Linked DNA regions of Homo sapiens: all the other regions are linked to region 1. Evidence: promoter capture Hi-C in human tissues and cell types (Jung and others, 2019). All regions are on one chromosome and are shown on one strand. Each heading gives the region's core, a stretch centred on a gene start or on the middle of the fragment in contact. The rest is flanking DNA. Distances are from core to core; before and after follow the strand shown. Region 1 holds the start of CCNJ (cyclin J). Region 2 has its middle 10 kb from the start of ENTPD1-AS1. Region 3 overlaps ENTPD1-AS1 (ENTPD1 antisense RNA 1).

Region 1 (3,603 bases), core at 166-2,665:
TTAAATAGGCCCTGGACAGTTATTTAGAAGCCAAATTATTATAAAGTTGTTTAATAGTCATGAAATGGAACCCAAGGATGTAGACACTATTTAAATGCCATTAAAAATGGCATGAAGCTTTTAGCCTGATGTGTCTACCTTCACTCTAGAGGACCCTGCAACTGAGAGACAGGCCAGGGCAGCCTTCTCCCTGGACTATGTCGGGTTAGGCCGGGATCTGCCAACTTCAGCTTCTGAGTTTCCCTTTTCTTGCCTTTGGTTCCTGCGGGCCTGCTCTCCTGGGTATAAGCATCGTCTATGGATAGGGTACGGCTCATATACATGTCTGCTGATGATCTTCAAATGAAGATGCCACCCAGAATCACATAAAATGTATTTATCACTTTGTAGTAGTTCTTTATCATCATGTATCTTTTTGGACAAAGGATTCAAAGTAAAAGGGGTGAAGTTTTAAAAATATTTACGTTTTACTATTAAGAGATTGATCTCCAGTCTCAGAAAAGTGGACAGTCTCACTGTCCTAGGGTTACCATCCACCTCTTTTGTGATAATCCACCAAAGAGGTTAAAATACAATTGATTAGGTTTCCTCTAATCACATTTCAGCCCCCATATCACCTCAATTGACGTCGGAGTGTTCTCACAGTTTTGCAGTTTCCTGATTTACGAGCACAGATGGTTAATTACATCCACCATGGGTTTGACAAGCAAGGTTACTAGAAGTAATCTTAAATGTCTTCATTCAAAGCTCTTGGGAATCCCTACAGCAACGAAAATAAGGAGGGGGAAGAGATTAATTAGGTTTCTAGAAGAAAGGTGGAGTTTGAGGTGGAACTTAAAAAAAGAGCATAATTTCACAGGAAAAAAAAAACGCTTCAGGGGCTGCAGAAACAGCTAAAGCACATTTGGAGGGCCTGATGATCCACGGAGCAGCCCCTGGGATGGAAGCGGTTGGTGCAACGTGAAGTAAGGTAAACCGAATCCATGCCGTGAAGACTTTTAAACGCCAAACTGAGGCGTCGGAACTTTGCTCCGCGGGCATCGAGGAGCCATCGAAGGTTCTCAGCAGGTGAGTGGCCTAACTGGATTGGTCACTGCAGTGATCCACCTTACAATTTCTCCGGCGCTCTCTGCCGACCTCAGCCGGCGATCAGGCCGGCTTCGCAGTAGGTGGCGGCTGAGCGCCCCGGCAACCGAAGCGCCAGGCCAGCCCAGGCCACGCCGCGCCGTGCGGGATGCTGACCGTACCCAGGCGGGAGCCGCCGCGCCGCCGCCTGGCGCTGCACCTGGGCCCGGCCCGGCCGCCAATTGGACGGCTCGGGGCGACCCCGCTGTATCGCGAGACGAGATTGGCAGCGGCGGGGCCTCAAGTGCCCCCGCGCTGGCTTTGTATGCGGAGCCGCCTGCCGGTCCTTTAACAATGGGCGGCGCGAGCGTCCAGGCGCTGGGCTCTAGCTGAGGCCGGCGCTTAGCGGCCCACTGTCCGCAGCATGAGCGGGGCCGGCGTCCGCCGCACGACGGCGGGGCTGGGGCTGTGAGGGCCGCGGTTCCGGGTAAGGGAGCCAGCGTGGGGCCGGGCGGCCCGGCAGGCCTGGGGTAGGCGTGGGGCAGCGGACCCTCCCGGGGTGAGGCGCAGAGCCTGGCTGGCCCGGCCTTTTGTTCCCCTTTCTGAGGCCGCGCGGAACGTGCGTTTCTCGGGGCTCCCGGGGAGGAGCAGGCTCCCGACGTCCATGCGGAGACCCGCGGCCAGGCAGACGCTCACCCCCGGGCTTTGCCATGGGAGCGTTTCCCCTCAGCGGGGCTATGAGCGTGTCACCTCTCCCCGCTCCTCAGGGAGGGCGGGAGAACTCCAGCCCCGGACGCAGGGAGCCCCAGCCGGGCCTCCCCCAGCTCTTCCCGAGCTCGCACCTGGCTCCGCGCTTTGGCAACTCAGGGCCCGAGTGGATCCCCTTTTGCCCGACACATAGTCGAGCAGTGAGTCTCAGAGTCCTTCGGCTCTTCCTGCGGGGGCAGACCCGGCTTCGCGTGTGGCGTTGGGGGAAACGACTCGGGTCGGGCTGGGTTGAGGAAGAGTCAAGTGAAGATGAGCAGCCACACCGGGTGGCCTGAGGTCACACCCCCCGGGGAGGGGGCGCAGAGGGTCGCGGGGGAGCCGGCAGTGACCGCGCCTGGGGTGTGTCTTACAGACTCGAGTTGCCGCGTCGGGCTGGGCGCGCCGCCGGGTCCCATGGAGCTGGAGGGGCAGTGGTGGCGAGGACAGCTGGCCGCCGATATTCACCAAGCGCTTCGCTACAAGGTAACTCCGAGGCCCGGCCTGCCTTCTCCTTCTGTGTGTCGCGCCAGTTGTTCTGAATCTCGGCTCTCTAGAAGGTCTAGTCAGGTTCTTTACTCACTATCTTCCGGGCCAGAAAAGGCGAGTTTGCTCATTTGCTCAAGGTTAATTAACTTCTTGGCTCCTTCTCTGGGATGTATCAAAAGAACCTGCAACCTGAATGAGTAGGGAGATGGTAGTTGGGCCAGGGAAGGTGGAAAGGGGCGTTCTGGCTTCCAGGTGGGTCATGAATTTGATCTTGTATTTTAAAAGATATATACACTGAATTTTTGTTGGGCAGAACAGCCCTCTTTGTTCGAGAGTTGCCGTTGCATGCAGCCAGTTTAAGTCGCTTTTGTACATAAATTCCTCAGCCTTTCCGCTAACTTGCCGTGAGACGTGGACAAGTGAAATTTCTGTTTCTTGATTTCCTCATCTGTAAAATGAGGAATAATGAGTGTGCCTTATGATTCTGGCGATTGTGAAACTTAAGTTAGTACCGTACATGTGCTTAGAAACTGCTCTTGGTATATAGTAAGCACTAAGTGATAACTTCTTATCACTTACCCCTCAGGATTTGGGCTGTTCAAAAGCCCTAAAGTGGAGGGAGTTGGCTGCCCCTTCCTGCTGATATCAAAGGCAGAAAGTAGACTTAATAGATATTGGAAAAAAATACTTTTCCAACACAAAGCAAAGTCTGTGTATTGTTGCTATTAAGTAACGGTTTTACTCTGCATGTGGCAAGGCAGATTAATGAGACATTTCTGCCTCTTCGATAACCAAAAGAGAGACCAGATCCAAAATGATCTCTAGCTTAACTCAGTTTCACCTTGGATAAAGAAAGCCATTTGTTAAATGTAGAAAATTGAGAAAGAAGCAAAACAGCTGACTTTCAATAAAAAGGATTCTGACTCTTGGGGTTGAGATCCTGGAATGATAATGAACTTTTATCTTGAGTTTCTGACCAGGTCAAGTAGATTGGAAAACCTAATTCTGACTTAAATTGTTACCCTTTTCTAGGCCTGAGATTTCTAAATGCTACTTAACTAATTCTGACATTCAGTCTCTTAGATTCACTAAAATACAGTTCAGCCCCCTAGGAGATGGTTTATACCACATAAAAATTCTAACTAATGGGATCTCTGGAGTGTTAGTTAGGAAAGAGTTGCAGTTTCTTGGAAAATTGTCCAGATACACTTTTGATCTTTTTTTTTTTTGGCAGATGTCATCTTTCAATGTGAAATGTTTTCTTTTTTAAAAAAATTAATATAGTTGCACATATTTTGAAAAGTG
Region 2 (3,603 bases), core at 760-3,259, 57 kb after region 1:
TATATCCCAAATTGTGTCATCTGTGAATTCTTCTTTTCTAATCTTTATGGTTTTATTTATTTTTCTTGCTTTATGTACCAGTGAAGACACAAAATATAATGTTGAATAGAAATGGTGTTAATGTCTGCCTGGCATGGTGGCTCACGCCTATAATCCCAGCACTTTGGGAGGCCGAGGCGGGCGGATCCCGAGGTCAGGAGTTTGAGACCAGCCTGGCCAACATAGTGAAACCCCGTCTCTACTAAAAATACAAAAAAAAATTTAGCCAGGTGTGGTGGCACATGCCTGTAGTCCCAGCTACTCGGGAGGCTGAAGCAAGAGAATTGCTTGAATCCTTCTCTTTTCTCTTTCTTTTCTTTTCTTTCTTTTTTTCAGATAGGGTCTTACTTTGTCACCCAGGCTGAAGTGCAGTGGTGCAATTGCTGCAGCCTCAAACTCTCAGACTCAGATGATTCTCCCATCTCAGCTTCCTGAGTAGCTGGGACTACAGGTTGCATCACCACACTCAGCTAATTTTTTTGTATTTTTTGTAGAGATGGGGTTTTGCCATGTTGCCCAGGCTGGCCTCAAACTCCTGGACTCAAGCAATCTGCCCACCTCAGCCTCCCAAAGTGCTGGGGTTATAGGCTTAAGCCATGGTGCCCAGCCAAAAGTTTGGGATTTTTCAATCTGGGCCTGGAAAAGACAGATTAGTCTTTCTCAACTGGTAGAGAAATGAGGGTAGATGAGATCACATGGAAGACTTAGAAACAATAACATTCTTTACTATCAGGACAAAAAATTTTTTGCAGTGAGATAAAGCTGACATGTAAAGAGAAGCTGAGATAGGAGATTGATGGGAAGAAATCTGAAAATTTTTATATCACTGTTTCTGGGATCTCCTGAGACCCAGTGTTACGTGTACCCTTTCAGTAACTGTGTATTCAACCCTTCATTTCATTATGAAGAATATCATACCTTGATATTTTTTCAGTAAATTTATATTTTCAGCCTAGTTTGTTTGCAACCATAAGGAAGTTTCAATGCATACATGATTGTTGCAAAAAAAAATACAAAAAATTATCAAGCAAAAAGCAGGATTTTCTCCTCTCCTTCTACCTTACTGTTCTCATTATAGTATTAACTTCTCACCACAGTGTTCTTAATATCTTTCCGTGTTCTTTCTATGTATATTACACATGTGAAATTATATATTTATAAACTACTTTCATCACTGTTTCACTCAGCGTTATATTGCAGAATTCTGTGTCAAGATACAGAAAATACACTTTTACCTTTTTAGTAGATGTGTTGTATGGTTGTACCCCTATCTGTATAACTAATTTCCTATTGATAGATATTCAAAAGATGTTCCCAATTTAGTGGTATTACAAAACAAAGATATAAAATTCTTTGCTTCTTTGTTAATTCAATAGAAATATATTGCCCATATTACGTGCCAGACAATTTTCTTGGCAAGTAATTTTTCAAGCTTCTGTTGGTAGAAAGGGGAAGAAATAAACAAGAAAACAAATACATGTGAACTAAATAATTTCATCTAGTGATAAGTTCTGTGAAGACAAATAAAACAGGGAGATTTCATACAAAGGGAAAGATGTGGGTGTAGAACTTCTTCAGAAGGGGACCTGGGGAGGTAAGCAGTGGCTCACACCAATGGAGTCCCAGTGCTTGAGGAGCTAAGCGGGGAGGATCACTTGAGTGCAGGAGTTTGAGAACAACCTGGACAACATAGCAAGACTCTGTCTCTCCAAAATTTAAAAATAAAAAAATTAGCTGGGCATGATGGCATGCTCCTCTAGTCCCAGATATTCAGGAGTTCAGGAGGCTGAGGTGGGAGAATTGTTTGAGGCCCGGCCCAGGAGATGGAGACTATAGCGAACCATGATCGTGCCACCCCAGCCTGAGCTACAGAAGGAAACCCTGTCTCTTTAAAAAAAAAAAAAAAAAAACCGGGAGGCGAAGCTTGCAGTGAGCTGAGATCGCGCCACTGCACTCCAGCCTGGGCGACAGAGCGAGACTCCGTCTTAAAAAAAAATAATAATAATAAAAAGAAAAAAAAAAGGAGGAGGATCTGGGTCGTTTCTGCTGCAAGGTGGGTGATATTTGGCCTAAATCCTGAATGATACAAAGAAATGGGCCCTGTGTGATCAAGGCAGACGAACATGGAAAGCAAAGATCCTAAGGCGGTAACAACTTGGCAGTTTGGAGGAAAAGAGAGGTGGCCAGTGTATGTGTTAGACTTCTTGCAATCAGTGGAAACCAATATAACAGTTTAAGCAGGAAGATAATTTATTGAAAGACACTTGGCAGCTCACAGAATCTCCGGGATGGCAAAGAACCATCTTGGATACTGGCCTACCAAGACAAATTCCCAAAAATCACACTGTGGAACTGGTCTAGAGGTGGCCAGTGTATCAGTTAGACTTCTCCTTGCAATCAATGGAAACCAATATAACAGTTTAAGCAGGAAGAGAATTTATTGAAAGATGCTTAGCAACTCACAGAATCTCTGGGATGGCAAAGAACCATCTTGGAGACTGGCCTACCAAGGCAAATTCCCAAAATCACACTGTGGAACTGGTCTAGTGGGAACATCACTACTGTGCTTGCTGGTATATATGCTATTGCTTGCACCAATAATGATACTGCTACTGCTGACTCTTCAATTTCCATGTATCTGCCACCTTACCCTCCACCCTTATTTATGACACTAGTTTCCAATTTAAAGTCTGCAGAAGTGACTCCCTCATGTAGATCCTATATGTGTTTGCACATTTGTACTGGTATTTTTAGACTAAATTCCAGAGGAACAGTTGAGTTTAAGGAGAAGCACATTTACATATTTTTTTAAGACAGGGTCTCACTCTTGTTGCCCAGGCTAGAGTGCAGTGGTACAATCATGGCTCACTAGAGCTTCTACCTCCCAGGCTCAAGTGATCCTCCCACCTCAGCCTCCTGAGTAATTGGAACTACAGGCACGCACCACCGTGCCCCGCTAATTTTTAATTTTTTGTAAAGGCGAGATCTCCCTGTGTTGCCCAGGCTAGTCTTGAACTCCTGGGCTCAAGTGATCCTCCTGACTTAGTCTGCCAAAGTGTTGGGGTTACCCAACACTTGTTATTACTTATTAACTCTAGATTTATGTTTCAGGGTAGGATTGCAGAGCTGCATATATTTGGACTTCATCCTGGCTCTGTGGCAGTAATTATGCATCATTGGGCAAATTAGTCTACTTCTCTGGGCTTCATTTACCTTGTGTATATAATATGGAAATGACTACCATGTTTCTTGAGACTGCCAGTTGTCCCCCAGTATCCTCTTTCCCCTTCTATGCGCACAGAGCCCCAAATTTTATCTAGATCCATACCTATGCAGAATCAATACTAATTTACTCTTTTCCCTTAGTCATAGCCAGCATTAAAATCTGTTGAGCCAGTGTCAGCAATTTGTAAGAAAATCCCAGAGGTTAATAATGAAGCACTTTTTAAAAATGCTGCATCACAAACTTTCTTTATGGTACATGGGATGATACTGGATAGAAAAACAGATATTTGTGCCACTGAGTTAAAGTGACTGAACACAAATGTAAATGTGAAGAAATTT
Region 3 (3,603 bases), core at 585-3,084, 38 kb after region 1:
CATGAAAATAACTTCATCAAATGAGGAATTACTCAACCTCTTGTCTCCACCCCTTCTCTGAAGTTGGTATCCTATCCACCATTTGAACCCTGGTAGATGTGAGAACCCTATTCAATCTACTCTCAAGTAAAGATATCAGCTCTTATAATTCCATTTTCTCCTTTTCATGGATGGGTTAAGTCTCTTTCCTGAATTGTATTCTTATGACACCAATCAAAGCATATGGGAGTAGGGGTTGGAGGGAGAAGGGGAAAAGTAGATTGTTCACAAATGTTAGCTTGAAAGAACTTGTTTAGTCTTAATGCCTTGAAGAAAATTTCCAACGGTAGCAAAATCTTTTTCTGGGAAAAACTGTTTTCATTTTCACTTTCCATGGGCTTTAAAAGAAAATTTAAGCCTCTTGGGGCAGTTTTAAAAAATATTTCTATAAAAGTTTCTGGCCAGGCATGGTGGCTCATACCTGTAATCCCAGCACTCTGGGAGGCTGAGGCGGGTGGATCACCTGAGGTCAGGAGTTCAAGACCAACCTGGGCAACATGGTGAAACCCTGTCTCTACTAAAAATACAAAAATCACCTGGGCGTGATGACACATGCCTGTAATCCCAGCTCCTTGGGAGGCTGAGACAGCAGAATCGTTTGAGCCCAGGAGGCGGAGGTTGCAGTGAGCCAAGACTGTGCCATTGCACTCCAGCCTGGGTGACAGAGCGAGACTCCATCTCAAAAAAAAAAAAAACAACTTTCTGCTAAGATAATTCGGAGGCCCTGAAGCAAGATTCTAGAGTGATATGCATGTATTTAACACTGTGTGAGAGGCTTGAAAATGTATGCCAAATTTTCAGTGTTTGTTTGGGAGTATATTTTTCTGAAGAAAGAGTCCAGGTATTGCTTCAGATTCTCAGTCTCCAATACTTAGTATGCTGCCTGGCATGTAATAAATGCTTTATAAATACACAAATAAAAGGATGAGAGAATGAATGAAGGCAAAGCTCTAAAGACATTCAAAAGAATGACCACAGAAGTAAATTATTTAATACTAGGAAACACTGGTGTCAGTGAAGCCCAAGTAAAAGAAGATTTCAAGAAGAAAGTGGATAAACTGTCACACTGGACTGAACAGAGGTCAAGTCAGATAGGGTCTGAGAAATACCCAGTGGATTTAGAAATGAAGTGGTAGTTAGTGACCTTTAAAACTGGTAATTTCAGTTGAGATAAAATGTTGCAGTTGGTTGAAGAATAAACAGGAAGTTCACGGAAATAAACAGTGAGTAAAGACAACTTTTTCATGAACACTTGTCTGTGGACAGAGAGGTATGAAACAGAAGAGAGAGCGGCAAATTGGTGTAGGATGGTTTTATTTTTTTCTTCTAAGACAGAAAAGATGTGAGAATGCCTAAATGCCAGTGGGAAGGAGCCATAGCTAAGTAAACGAGAAAAATCCTAAAGAGTAGGAATGAATGGGAAGAGATCCAGAGGCTTGGACCAGAAGAGGACCACCTTTTCCACTGTGCAAGGAGAAAAGGACAAACAAACAAACAAAAAAAGAACAAAAATGGTTTATCAATGAAGTAAGTTTGAAGGTTTGGTCGCACTAATTTGCTAAAGTTGCCATCTTATGTTTTCTGTTTTCTCTGAGAAAACGGGAGGTAAAATAATCTGCTGAGAATGAAAAAGTAGGAGATCTAGTGAGCACATAGGGAAGGGTCTAAGGTCAGCAGAAGTTTAAAACAGCTCCTGTGGAGAATGGGAAAGAGAAGAATTGCCAGGCAAAGTCATGAACATAAATGTCATGCTATTAGTTTTCACCAATGTGTGATTTTTCTCTAAGAAGTCTTTCGAGCAGAAAGGGGTTTCTAAGAAAAATCCCTGCCACCAGAGGCTGCCTTATCTCTTGTGAGTGAGAATTAAGTTGAGTGACTTAAATTCACGTTCAAAATTGTGGTGGAAATACATTTATGTGAGTATCACATGCAGAAATTATGGTGAATCTGAAAATTATAGGAAGTTATTGGTATTATTTTAAATATCTAGAAAATAAAAGTTTGCCTCTTTAAGGGACTAAGAATGGTGACAGGAAAGTTTTTGTGTACAGGAAAATGAAAACCATTGTCAAGGCCGGCACAATGGCTAACACCTGTAATCCCAGCACTTTGGGAGGCTGAGGCAGGCAGATCACCTGAAAACAGGAGTTCAAGACCAGCCTGGGCAATGTGGTGAAACTCCGTCCCTACTAAAAATACAAAAATTAGCCCAGTGTGGTGGTGCACGCCTGTGGCCCCAGCTACTCAGGAGGCTGAGGCAGGAGAATCGCTTGAACGCAGGAGGCGGAGGTTGCCATGAGCCAAGATCGCGCCATTGCACTCCAGCCTGGGCAACAGAGCCAGACTCTTCTCAAAAACAAACAAACAAACAAACAAAACCATTGTCAAAACAAAGCCCTAAATTAATTACAGTCATCATGCACTACATAACAATGTTTCAGTCAACAATGAACAGTATATACACTGCTGGTCCCGTAAGATTAAAATGGAGCTGCACTATATAGGTGTATTAAAAAACAAAAACAACTGTTATATTGTATTTTTACTGTGCCATTTCCATGTTTAGATATGTTTAGAAATGCAAATATTCACCATTGTGCTACAATTGCCTCCAGTATTTAGTACAGCAACATGCTGCACAGGGTTGTAGCTTAGGAGTAACAGGCTATACCATACAATCTAGGTGTGTAGTAGGCTACACCACCTATGTGTGTGTAAATAAACATGATGGTGAATTCACCTAATGACACATTTCTCAGAACATATCACCACAGTCAAGTGATGCATGACGGTACTTAGAGAGTCCCACAGGTGACCTAATAACTGAAGCAATCAGCTCTCAAAAGCTTTACCCTGTCACTTCAAGTGACAATGTCAGCGTCAACAAATCCAGAACAAAAGGAAGGACATCTAGAGAGAGAAATCCACAGCAAAGACTAGTTAGAGTGGTTTTCTCAAAACAGATAGAGATGGAAGGTAACAAGAGGGTGCATGTTCCCTAGCACATCTCTCCAGGCCAGCTGAGCCAAGCCTCGGAGAGGGCAATGGAGGTCCTCAGCCCATCAGCCATGACATACATATACATGACATAATCACTCAGACTCACCTAAAATTAAAAACAACAAACAAACAAATGGAGGACTCTCTCATGCTTATTCTACCAATTTTAAGTCAGTTCAGTCTCTAATGTTCAGTAGGTCATCAGGCAAAGGTGACATCACACTCAATCCCCAAACTGATACCTATTCTCTTTAGCTTTTCTTCTCCCTCTGTCTACAGACACCCAGAAGCAGCTGGTGACATTGAATACCTAATCACTGTTACTTCCCTCTTTATCTGTTTTCTGGCTTGGCTAGAGGCCTACCAAAAGGGTTAGTTACATAGCCAAGGTTTAAGATGAGTGCTTTCAACACTCTCCACCTAGCCAAACCTACTCTGTCCTGAAAACAGTACAGCAGTCCAAGTGGGGAAGCAGAGAAGACAGCTGTTTTGAAACGCAGGCTAAATAAGTGGTTAAATGCACATTTTCTAAGGGCAAACTTCTAGGGTTTATACCCTACTACA

What was found. The method cuts DNA at HindIII sites, captures the fragments that hold promoters and counts their contacts. A contact is called where the count stands out against the background at its distance.
Region 2: a contact is called between a fragment that was not itself captured here and the fragment with the promoter of CCNJ in region 1, in 1 of the 25 tissues and cell types used here (spleen).
Region 3: a contact is called between a fragment that was not itself captured here and the fragment with the promoter of CCNJ in region 1, in 1 of the 25 tissues and cell types used here (liver).

What each region holds. Positions count from the first base shown.
Region 1 is chr10:96,042,168-96,045,770 of GRCh38, forward strand. It overlaps CCNJ (cyclin J), which reads left to right and starts at 1,416. Exons shown (of 6, transcript NM_001134375.2): 1 at 1,416-1,552; 2 at 2,186-2,295. The coding sequence starts at 2,227. All of the region lies in intron 2 of ENTPD1-AS1 (ENTPD1 antisense RNA 1), which reads right to left. RefSeq lists silencers at 805-999, 1,127-1,696. The HindIII fragment of the contact is 11,661 bases long and covers 1-3,603 here.
Region 2 is chr10:96,098,456-96,102,058 of GRCh38, forward strand. No RefSeq gene overlaps it. Among named protein-coding and RNA genes, the nearest start is that of ENTPD1-AS1, 10 kb to the left of the region's middle. The HindIII fragment of the contact is 3,055 bases long and covers 483-3,537 here.
Region 3 is chr10:96,079,529-96,083,131 of GRCh38, forward strand. The region is part of intron 2 of ENTPD1-AS1 (ENTPD1 antisense RNA 1); the gene reads right to left. Among named protein-coding and RNA genes, the nearest start is that of ENTPD1-AS1, 8.9 kb to the right of the region's middle. The HindIII fragment of the contact is 4,273 bases long and covers 1-3,603 here.